Regions from separate parts of the Homo sapiens genome. Here regions 1, 2 and 3 are each linked to region 4. The links are contacts of gene promoters, found by promoter capture Hi-C in blood cells and fetal thymus (Javierre and others, 2016). All regions are on one chromosome and are shown on one strand. The core of a region is centred on a gene start or on the middle of the fragment in contact, and the rest is flanking DNA. Distances in the headings are between cores, read along the strand shown. Region 1 has its middle 15 kb from the start of SQOR. Region 2 overlaps SQOR (sulfide quinone oxidoreductase). Region 3 overlaps SQOR (sulfide quinone oxidoreductase). Region 4 holds the start of SHF (Src homology 2 domain containing F).

What was found. Contacts are between HindIII fragments. The CHiCAGO score rates a contact against its expected background, and 5 or more counts as called.
Region 1: a contact is called between a fragment that was not itself captured here and the fragment with the promoter of SHF in region 4, in 1 of 17 cell types (monocytes). The highest score is 5.8, in monocytes.
Region 2: a fragment that was not itself captured here is called in contact with the fragment with the promoter of SHF in region 4 in 1 of 17 cell types (monocytes); the score reaches 6.1 in monocytes.
Region 3: a fragment that was not itself captured here is called in contact with the fragment with the promoter of SHF in region 4 in 5 of 17 cell types (monocytes, M2 macrophages, naive CD4 T cells and 2 more); the score reaches 9.3 in monocytes.

The regions. Positions count from the first base shown.
Region 1 is chr15:45,619,095-45,621,794 of GRCh38, reverse strand. No RefSeq gene overlaps it. Among named protein-coding and RNA genes, the nearest start is that of SQOR, 15 kb to the left of the region's middle. The HindIII fragment of the contact is 492 bases long and covers 1,034-1,525 here.
Region 2 is chr15:45,660,087-45,662,786 of GRCh38, reverse strand. SQOR (sulfide quinone oxidoreductase) reads right to left here. Exons shown (of 10, transcript NM_021199.4): 3 at 662-832. Among named protein-coding and RNA genes, the nearest start is that of SQOR, 26 kb to the right of the region's middle. The HindIII fragment of the contact is 2,590 bases long and covers 94-2,683 here.
Region 3 is chr15:45,638,828-45,641,527 of GRCh38, reverse strand. The region is part of intron 1 of SQOR (sulfide quinone oxidoreductase); the gene reads right to left. Among named protein-coding and RNA genes, the nearest start is that of SQOR, 5.1 kb to the right of the region's middle. The HindIII fragment of the contact is 590 bases long and covers 1,080-1,669 here.
Region 4 is chr15:45,186,678-45,189,377 of GRCh38, reverse strand. SHF (Src homology 2 domain containing F) reads left to right here and starts at 1,412. Exons shown (of 7, transcript NM_001394037.1): 1 at 1,412-1,924. The coding sequence starts at 1,427. It overlaps LOC124903481 (a long non-coding RNA gene), which reads right to left. Exons shown (of 2, transcript XR_007064608.1): 2 at 560-1,263. RefSeq lists a silencer at 1,468-1,517 and an enhancer at 2,432-2,700. The HindIII fragment of the contact is 22,026 bases long and covers 1-2,700 here.

The sequences.
Region 1 (2,700 bases), core at 30-2,529, 430 kb before region 4:
GTACTTCTCCACACAGGTGCAAGGAGCAGCTACTCCATAGTCCTCATGGGCCTTCCTTCCTAAGGGGCAACTGAGCAGAGGGGGTTGGTTGGATGAATTACAGTCCCAAGATCACCACAGTTGATCACAGGACCACAATTAGTACTTACCTTCTCCCTCTTCCACTATTCATTCTAAATCCCCTTCACCCTCAGCTATCGCCTTGGCCGGTCTTGGTGGCTTACCTGGTGGTGTAACCCAAACTTTCATTCCTGAGGGGTCTGAACTCACGATAATCATACTCTTCTAAGGCTGAGGTTGCCGCGTCTATCTATTCACAGTTATAATGGGGCTAGGGAGTACAGGAGGTACCCAAATGAATCACCCGAGTTCCACACATCTTCCTCCTTGCCCCATCTTGTAAATGAACTTACCTCCCCCTAACGATCACTTCAGTGCTTTTGCTAGTATACCAGCTCCTCTCTTGCCTGCTGGTGCCTGAACACAAAAAGTACAAAGCACCCTGTCAGCAGCCACAACTTATAGTTCAGTGGCACCTTTATTATATCCCTGGCAAGAGTGTGTTCCCTTTGAGAATCAGGACCTCCAATCATGCAGAGCCTAGAGTTGCAGAGAAAGAAAGCAGAAAATCCCCCAGTGGATCACTGGGGAATGGTAGTAAGTGGGTCACTGGAAACGATGGTAAGTAGGGCCACTTCTCCTTCCACCCCTTAGTTTCCTGACCCTTGTATCCTTCCTACTAGGGAAGTAGAACCATAGAGAGGTCACTGATTTAATAAATGCACCGTGTCCTGAAAGATGGCACTTCATTATTTCACATCCTTTCTCAGAGCTACCATTTCAGTTGTTACTTTAGAAGACCATCTCAACAATCTATAAGGCCAGTTGCTTCTGGGTGGTGCAGTTCATAACACAACCAGAGAATCCCATGGTCAGGACCCACTCCCACACCTCCTTCACTTGAAGTAGATTCCCTAGTTGGATGCTCTGCTACGCAGGATTCCACAACTGTGGATCAAGCATTCCCTAAGCTTCCAGATGGAAGTGCTGGCTGAGGCTCTGTGGGCAGAAAAACCATACAATATTAATTTACAGTTTGCCTTAGAGTTATATTACCCATCCCACCTCCTATTATAAGATAGTCTGAGAGATCTGGACCTCTTAAACATCCAAGAACATATCACATTGATCCATTACACTGAGATGACATAAAGCTCATTAGACAGGACCAGCCAGAGGGGCAAGTATGCTGGAGGCCTTGATGAGATGCGTGCATTTCAGAGCGTAGGAGATAAACCCTGTGAAGAGTCCAGAACAGGCCATTTCAGAAACATATTTGGAGGTCTCGTGGTTGGAAGTATTCTGGAATAGCCTGTTCTAAAGTAAAAGGCAAATTGATGTATCTTCTAGCCCTGTTTTGAGGAAAGAAGGCAGTGCCTTGTAGGCCTTTTTGTGTTCTTGAGACAACATATTCCACCCCTGGGGGATATATTTCTGGCCCATGTACTGGGTGACACAGAAAGCTTCTGGCTTGAGTGGGGCTAGAACGAGAAAGGGTGCTGCAGCAGGTCCAAGCCATAGTGCAGTCAGCTCTGCCAGCAGACCCCCATGGTGTTGGAGGTGTGAGTGGTGGGAAAAGATGTAGTGTGACCACTGAATGGATCTGCAGGCCTCCTGGGCCCATTGTAAACTGGGCTTTATCTAGCACCCCATTTTTTAGTTGGTCCTCCTAAACTCTGCTCTAACAGCAGGGCTATGATGCTTCTTTGGGTCTCTCAGTATCAGTGCAACTCAGACCCTTTGTCCAATAGTTTTTTTTTTTTTTTTTAGCGGGAGGGAGTCTTGCTCTGTCGCCCAGGCTGGAGTGCAGCAGCACGATCTCGGCTCGCTGCAACCTCCGCCTCCTGTGTTCAAGCGATTCTCCTGCCTCAGCCTCCCAAGTAGCCAGGATTACAGGCGCCCACCACCACGCCCAGCTAATTTTTGTATTTTTAGTAGAGACAGGGTTTCACCATATTGGCCAGGCTGGTCTCAAACTCCTGACCTCAAGTGATCCAGCCTCAGCCTCCCAAAGTGCTGGGATTACAGGCATGACCCACTGCGCCTGGCCTGTCCAATTACTTTATAAATGTCTGATTATTCCCCCTTCAGTGTATAGTCACCCAAGAAAATGGCCATAGGTCCCTTTGAGGAGACTAGGGGAATCATCACAGTATATGTTTGCCATCATGTTGCACGGTTCTTCCTTCAACCACCTCTCCAGTCCATGTATCCAGATCTAAAAATTAACTTAAGTCTGGGAACTGGGCAAGGGAGCCGGATTTTTATTGAAATTACTGCCCTCAGCCTCTTGCTCCTCCAATTTGCTTTAAAAAAATAAATAGATCAGGGATCAGTATATGATGGCCCAGGAGCCATTGATGGCCTGATCTAGTCAATCATCTATTTTTCATAAACAAAGGTTTGTTAAAACACGGGACACTCGTTTGCTTACATATCGTCTATGGTTGCTTTTGTGCTACAACAGCTGAGCTGAGCAGTTGCCACAAAGAGTGTATGACTTGCAAAGTCTAAAATATTTAGCCCTTTACCTGAACAGTTTGTTGATCCCGTTATAGATGCTAAAAGCATCCTTGTTGACTGCCTGCCTGTTTTGCTTCTAAGTGCAAAATAGACACTACGCTCCATTAACCATGTCCA
Region 2 (2,700 bases), core at 139-2,638, 470 kb before region 4:
GAAAAGAAAGCTGCAGATGGCTTCTGAGCAGGCCTTCCACCATCCTGCTCTTATCACCTCAGTCAAACATGGGGCGGCCACTGCTGAAAAGCTTTGACCCCTGAGTGGTGAGGGTGGGAGACTTCTAAAAGGTGCTGAGCAGTTGTGAGCCTCAAGCTCCAGCAACAATTCTCCTTAGCGCTGGCATGAACCTCAGAGTCACAGGATTCCCCTACAGTTCTGGTAGAGCGCCCCCCAGGGTGGCTGGATGGATATTTTCCAGCATCCTATTGTTCTGGGAGGCTAGGCGACCGGTAGAAAATCTGATTGCTTCAGAAAAAGAGAAGGAGGAAGGTGCTTGCTATTTTAACATGTAGCAACGTATAAACAAATGGTCTGATAAACATTCAGGTGCAAGATAGTATACTAAGCAATAGGGTGCACAGTGGGTGTTCAACAAATACTTATCTTAGTTGTTTATTAACTCAATATCACTCAGTCCTTCCATCTATCCTCCACTTACCACATACCCTGCCATCTTGTGTAGTATTCAACACACATACGTTCATGCACACACATGCATATATACCGCTCTTTCAACACAAGGCTATCCAGTTTAAGATGGCTGCATATTAATACAAGCTGTCAGATTAACAAAAAATCTAAAGGCCTCAGTGGTTACCTTCTCGTCGTCATCTGTGTGAATGCAGTTCTTGTCTGGGTTCAACTCAGTCACTCTAGCTTTGATCCATTCTACACCAGATGGAATCACACTTGCCGTGGGACGACCAGATGAGGACAATTGTTTGGCACCAGCACCCACCAGTGTCCAGATTGGCTGGTAGAAATGTCTCTGAGAAACAAAGTATTTGAAGATTTATTGCAATTTGACACTGATCAAAAGGGGTCATAGCTAACAGTATGGGCTAGATTCTTTCAATCACTCCCTCCTGACCTTTAGAGCATCGTATGGAAAAGTCTCCACAAAGTTAGCTCCGTCTATTAGGCGTCTCCTATTATGGTAAGCTCTGAAGGACAGTCACTCCACACAAGAATTCTTCCAAGATCATCAGAAAAGCTATAAACTATCTTTAGTGACCACTGCATTATGTATTGCTGAAAGTTGATTTGGTGTTTAATATGTACATGTTATATGCACGTGCATATCTACACACATATTATGGATACTTCATGTGAACAAATATTTTAAAAATTAAGCCCAGCAGCCTAGATATGGTTCCTCAGGAGCATGTGGAGACAGTGGTAAGTCTGGAAAGTTTACAGCCCCTTCCAGAGGTCCTCTAAACTTCATTAACTTCCAACTGTGTTTCCCAAGCCCAGTGAGGGCTGTGTTTCCTGAACAGCCCTTCTTCTACTTTCTCAGAGACTCAGAGATTTTACACCAAAGACAATAAGTACCAGATCCTACTCCACAATGCAATGCATACCCAAACTTTCACTATCTTCTGGAGTTTTCTTGCTTCAGATGGTCCTTTTTTTTTTTTTTTTTTTTTTTTAAGACAGAGTCTCGCCCAATCACCCCAATCACCCAGGCTGGAGTGCAGTGGCACGATCTCGGCTCACTGCAACCTCCACCTCCCAGGTTCAGGCGATTCTTCTGCCTCAGCCTCCTGAGTAGCTGGGACTACAGGCATGTGCCACCATGCCTGGCTAATTTTTGCATTTTTAGTAGAGATGGCATTTCACCATGTTGCCTAGGTTGGTCTTGAACTCCTGACCTCAGGTGATCTGCCTTCCTCAGCCTCTCAAAGTGCTGGGATTACAGCCCTGAGCCACTGTGCCCAGCAACAGTCCATTCTTGATCTAAGTTAGTTGTAAAAGTTCTGGACATAGGGGCAAAGGGCAGATTTGTTTAATGGCCTCTAAGAATTCCAATCCACTTAGAGTAGACTGGGGACCAAGAGCTCTCAATATTGCCAAAATGCCTCAAAGTAGCTGGCCAGCACTGCCAAAACCCACAGAGAGGTGAAGAGGACACCAGGAATGACTTTGCAATCTCCCTACAAGCAATAATGTGATCCAAGAGGGAGGAAGACAGAGGTCTCCATTTATGAGAGCTCATCAATGGCCAGTCTATCTTGAACAGTAAGAGGAGCAAAAATACAAGCTCAGATTTTATTTTTAGACTATGAACATCAGCTCCAGCTATCACTAAATCAGACTCAGCAGGGAAAGTACCAAGCCTGGGGCTCTGGCAGCTCCTTCCAGAAATTCCTGTCCTGTACTTCCTCACGGGGCAGGACAAACTTGATTCTGGCCGCCTGAATTGTGCCCAGGTCCCAGAAGAGCCAGTCTCCTTACAAAGAGAAGCCTGACTGGGAGACCCGCCCACGCATTAGCTAAAATACAACATATACCAGAAACAGTAGCCACCTGACACAGCTCTCAGACCACTGTCATTTAAAGTGAGGTTCCTGAATTGAACAGACGTCACTTTAAAAAGGAAAATGATAGAGACTGCCCCCTAGTTTCCTCTCAAATCATGGCCCTGGTTAACATCATTCCCTGCTGGGGACAAATCTTGAAAAGGAGTATGTCTTCCTTGTCCTGTCCTCCCCCTGAAACAGGCACCTGATCCATTTTGCTTTTTCCTCCCAAGGATACAGCTCCCAACCAGTACATGCCTAGTTCCACAGGAAACATTAGGCAAACCACCAAAAATCTTGAATATTTTTCTGAAGCTTTTGGACAATCTTAACA
Region 3 (2,700 bases), core at 125-2,624, 450 kb before region 4:
TTATAAATCCAAACATTTGTTTAAATATTAAGCTGTGAAGCAAGTACACCAGTAGTGGGCCAGGACTGAGTCACTGGGGAAATAGGAACAATCTATATAGCTCTCTGATGATTCAAGGACTGGGAGCTGCACTGGGGTTCTTTAGTTCCCTCACTCTTCAGGGGCAAAACTGTAGGAATTTTCTTTGCAGAGTTACTGATTAAGAGTTGCTAATGAGGACTTTACAATGAAACAGTGGCTCCCTTTGCTCCTGAGAAATTTCCTACAAATTATCCTGACCTATCCTTATTTTACAATCAGAGAATGCATTGTAACAAGAGAACTGACAATTTCACCAAACCAATACAATTGCTAAGCAGAAAACACAAATTATATTTACATAAGGAAAATGCTTGCATTCAGATTCCAGGAAAGAAAAAATATGTCAGTCAATTGGATTATTTCAAATGAAAGTTAAGAGTTTTGACTGAATTATATAGGGGGAAAAAAAATGAAAGAACACCTTGTTTTTCTGCTTGCTGTAGCCAGTGGGAGCCTGACTTCTCACATTCTAGTACATAAAGAAGCACGACTTAGCTCCCCTTCAACCCCACCACTCATAGTTGGCCTCTGGTCAGGTAATTTTCAGGTTTCCTTTCTAGTCTGTATATGCCTGTGTGTGCCCATCTGCAGACTGTAGGACATGACTCACTGGAAAAAGAAGCCTGAGGTGGAATCAGTGTACTCCCAGTCACACAACAGGGATGAACTTGTTTTCCTGAGTTTGTTAAATGACCACATTAAAATTACTCATCAGCCTCAGGAGCATTGGGATTTCCACTCAGAGTCTCACATGCAAGGAGTTCACTGTAAACGGGACTGGCCATTTCATTCAAGTATATCATTCCTTGGAATCCAGTGTGTGAGGTCTTACCATAATGAGAAAACACTCTTTAATTTCAAGGTATACATTTGCTATTTGGACATAGTTGGAGAGACTCTAAACTCAATCCTTTAATAGTTGAGACAGAATGAGGTGTAGACAGCTCACGTCTCTTCTGTGTCCAGCTAGATGACAATGACCCGTTCCTGGTGAAGCTTTGTCTGAGGGCATATCAAGAGTCAAGAGACCCAGGACCACAGTCCAGGGAGTGCTAGGTACAGCTCTTCCTGACCCATTTTGGGCCATGCTTTCTTCATCAATGGAATAAAGGATCAGATTGGGTGGCATCAAAGGTCCCCTGCTTCTCTAAAACTTTGCTATCCTCTAAATGAGAAAAGGAAAATGGAAGTTCACAAGCAGGCTTTCAAATGGGGACGCTTGTTCTAATAACTCCTTAGATTGATCAGAGATGTGAATTTTTGTGGCAAAGAATAACAAGGCTTTAATAAGCAGGTCTGGAACATAATTAGAATGGAAACCATTCCTCTCAATCTCTCCCCGCAAGTCCCCAAATCATTTGTGGAAGTGTTGATATGTGACAGGCATTGTGCTATGCACTTTACGTAATTACTCACAAAAACCAGAGAGGTGGGAATTATTATTCCCATTTTATAAGTGAGGAAATGGAGATTGTAAGACCATGAGATAGTCATTTACCATTTTGAGTCCATTTCCCTGAGTGTAAAATAAGTGGAGGTGTCTAGTTGCCATTAAAGACCTTTCTTACTCAATGATTCAAAACAAGCTTAGATTTGATCACCTAGACCTTGAAAGGCTCATGATTTTCCTCCAAACTCAGATGGCCCCTCATCCATCTCAAGCATCATTTATGTGCTCACAGAAACACAAAACCACATTTACTAGACCCAGCACTGTCTTGAAGAGCTCTCACAATCTATACTCCAAACATGGTGGTTGTTAAAACACATCATTTTCCTATGGAGACATCATGGGCTACCTTAGAACAAATAGCCAAAGATATAAGAAAGTTATCATAGAGTGAAATCACCACAATCCCCACTTCCAGAAGCAGCCCTCCCTCCCAGAAGTCAGGAATTGGTACCAGGATACAGACATAGCCATTTTCTCTCCATTCATGTAGCTAGGGCCAGAGCTGCTGGTTCCCAGCTAGGTGGCATGAAAGTTCCCTGAGGGCTGGGCTAGGGCCAAAACATGGAGATTCATTATGATCAGAAGGGAGTCACCCCATGGTATTTAAGGATGATCATAACATCATCACCCATCACCCACCATACATTTACAAAGTACTTACTATGTACATGGCACAACAGCTAACCTAGGTCACTTGCTGAAGAGGCCAAGTTTTTCTTTTCCTAACAGTCAAAATCATGAAGCTGAATATGGCTTTAACAACTTCAGGCAAGATCCTAGGGACCACACAGGGTGTCTGTAGAAGGAAAGTACATGGGAGACTCTTCTGCATAGGTTGGGTAAGAGATCCTAAGAGCAAGTGATGGACATGTCGGGATCATGACTTAAAAGAGATGGTGCCTAGTTGTAGCCATTTTTTTTAAACCTATTGTCCATTTGGTAGAACCAGTTGTATTAATTTTCTAGGGCTGCCATAACAAAACACTATAGACTAGATGAAGTCTAGAGAACAGAAATTTATTTTCTCAAAGTTCTGGAGATTGAAAGTCCAAGACCTCAGTGCTGATGAGACTGGTTTCTCCTGGGATCTCTCTCCCTGGTTTGCAGATGGCCACCTTCTCAGTGTGCCTTTGCGTGGCCTTTTCTCTGTGCACATGTGCTCCTGA
Region 4 (2,700 bases), core at 163-2,662:
CCTAGGAGTGCGGAGACACTGAGGCAGTGGGGGAAAGGGGGTGGGGTAAAGTGAGGTGAGACAGCTGCTTTCCCAGCAGAGCCAAGAGCAAATGTGTTGGTGTTGGCTTCAGGCCTACATTTATGGTGAGGAACTGGCTTTATTTCTTTCCTTTTCTTTTTTCTTTTTCTTTTTTTTTTTTTTTTGAGACGGAGTCTCACTCTGTCGCCCTGGCTGGAGTGCAGTCGCGCAATCTCAGCTCAATGCAACCTCTGCCTCCTGGGTTCAAGCGATTCTCCTGCCTCAGCCTCCCGAGTAGCTGGGACTACAGGTGCCCGCCACCACACCCGACTAATTTTTTTGTATTTTTGGTAGAGACGGGGTTTCACCGTGTTAGCCAGGATGGTCTCGATCTCCTGACCTCGTGATCCTCCCGTTTCGGCCTCCCAAAGTGCTGGGATTACAGGCGTGAGCCACCGCGCCCAGCCGGAACTGGCTTTATTTCTAAGACAAAAATGCCTAGCACTTGAGCATCTGAGCCTCAAGAGGATAAGGAGTTTGTGATAGACAACACTGGGACTGTTTCTAGACTTGATTTATTGACTTGTCTGTTTCCATTCTGTTACTAATCTGATTGACAATGAAGCCCGGGATGTGGCTGGAAGGGATTTCTGCGTGCGTGCGCATGCTATCGTCAGGGCCATGTGGGCCCGTTTGGAGCAGGTGCTCCCGTGGGTGGGGGATGTTTGAGCGAGGGCTGTTTGCGTGTGAGAAGGGCGTGTGTGAAAACGACACGGGAGAAGTGGGCGTCTCTAGGGAGTTGTTTGTATGTGATGTGAGATGTGTTTGCCTGGATCGGGAAGTAACGTAGGTTCGGGTATGTGCAGTGCGTACGGTTGGATGGGAGGAGGTTGTGGGGCTCCCAAGGTAGCACGGGAGGAGGAGGCTTACAGACACATCTTACAGAACCTAGCCCCTTTTCTTGCCCGCCTAGATTTTCCTCCTAGATTATAGTTTCCCAGTTGCGAGATCCTGGGAGAGGGAAGAGGAGAGGCGTAAGGCTCCCTAGAGTCAGGAGTCTGGGGGCTCCCCTCTTTGCGTCTCGCACGAGCTGGGAGCTGGGGAAAAGAACAGATGGGGATGGATGCGCTCCCCACAGGGGACCGCGTGGCGACACGTAAAGGATTCAACCTCAGTCCAGTAGTCGCATCCTCTGCCCCAGGGCTGCCCACTTCACTTCTTGCCTGTGCATACCGGCTGGAAGCCCGCGTACACTCTTCCGAGCTACGGGAGGAGGAAGACCCTGTTAGGGAGCGGAGCCCCGCCTCTCCCTTGTTACTGAAGCGCCCCGCCCCCTCCCCGCCCGGCGGAGCCCCGCCCCCCTCCCCACCCCCGCCCCCGCCCCCCACCCGCCGCTGCGCTCCCCTCGCTCAGTCTGGCTGGCCCCATGTTACTGAGCGGAGCTCCTCCGGCTGGCTCCCGCCCGGGGCCGCGAACGCAGGGGAGCGCTGGGGGCGGCCCGGGGGGGTCCCGCCGGGGCGCCGGGGGTGCGGGAGCCGGCCCAGGAGGGGGCGGCAGCGGCGGAGTAGCCAAGTGGCTCCGGGAGCACCTGGGCTTCCGCGGGGGGGGCGGCGGCGGAGGGGGCAGCAAGCCGGCGCCCCCCGAGCCCGACTACCGCCCCCCTGCGCCCTCTCCGGCCGCGCCCCCCGCGCCGCCCCCGGACATCCTGGCCGCCTACAGGCTGCAGCGGGAGCGCGACTTCGAAGACCCCTACTCCGGGGGGTCGTCCGGCTCCGCCGCCCTCGCCACCCCTGTCGCCCCCGGACCCACGCCGCCCCCGCGCCACGGCTCTCCCCCACACCGCCTTATTCGGGTCGAGACCCCGGGGCCCCCGGCGCCGCCTGCTGATGAGCGGATCTCCGGACCCCCCGCCAGCAGCGATAGGGTGAGTGCCGCGCCGGGCCGGGATGGCCAGGAGGGAAGGCGGTCAGGGGTCTGGAGGCTGCGAGAGGGACAAAGGTGGCCTGGCCCGGGCCCCTCGGTGTCTCAGCTTCTGGCAGACGCGAGCCCCTGACCCCGGGGTTCCGAGCCTTCACCCACCTTTGTTCAGATTCTCAACCGACTAATCTGAGACGGAAGCCCCAAACTCTGCCCCTCTGCCCTATCCTTTGTAATGGCCCCAGAACTGGTGACCCTCCCCCTCCCGGGCTGGCTCTCCACTTCGTAGCCCCCTCTAGCCTGATCCATGAGCCTTTTGCTAACGGGAATTGAGGCGCACCTCCCAACCCCCACTGGTTGATGGCCTTTCTGCCCCTCTGGAAGCAGCGGCTCAGTGCCCTTTGATCTCTGACCCTTCCCCCTGGGCATAGCCAGCACAAAGCTCTTCCCTCCTGTTGCCTCTTTGCTTCCTCCTCCTCTTCCTCCTCCTGTTTCTCCAGCCTAAGCATCCTTGCAGGTGCTGAAGCCCCAGAAAGGAGGTGAAGACGGGTTTCTCCTTGCGGACACAGCACGAGCTGGCCTTTGCCCTATAGGCTGTTGTTCTCAGGAGGCGAAGACAGGCAGCTTACAGCTCTTGCCAAGGGGGCTTCGTGGGGTCCAGGCCCACTCCTCCCTCCTTCCCTCGTCCTCTCAGGTATGAGGATAGTCAGTGCTCAGGACCTGTTGCCCACATGGGGCTAAGCAGCTGAGCCCATTCCTCCTCTCCTCCTGGCCTCCCTCTCC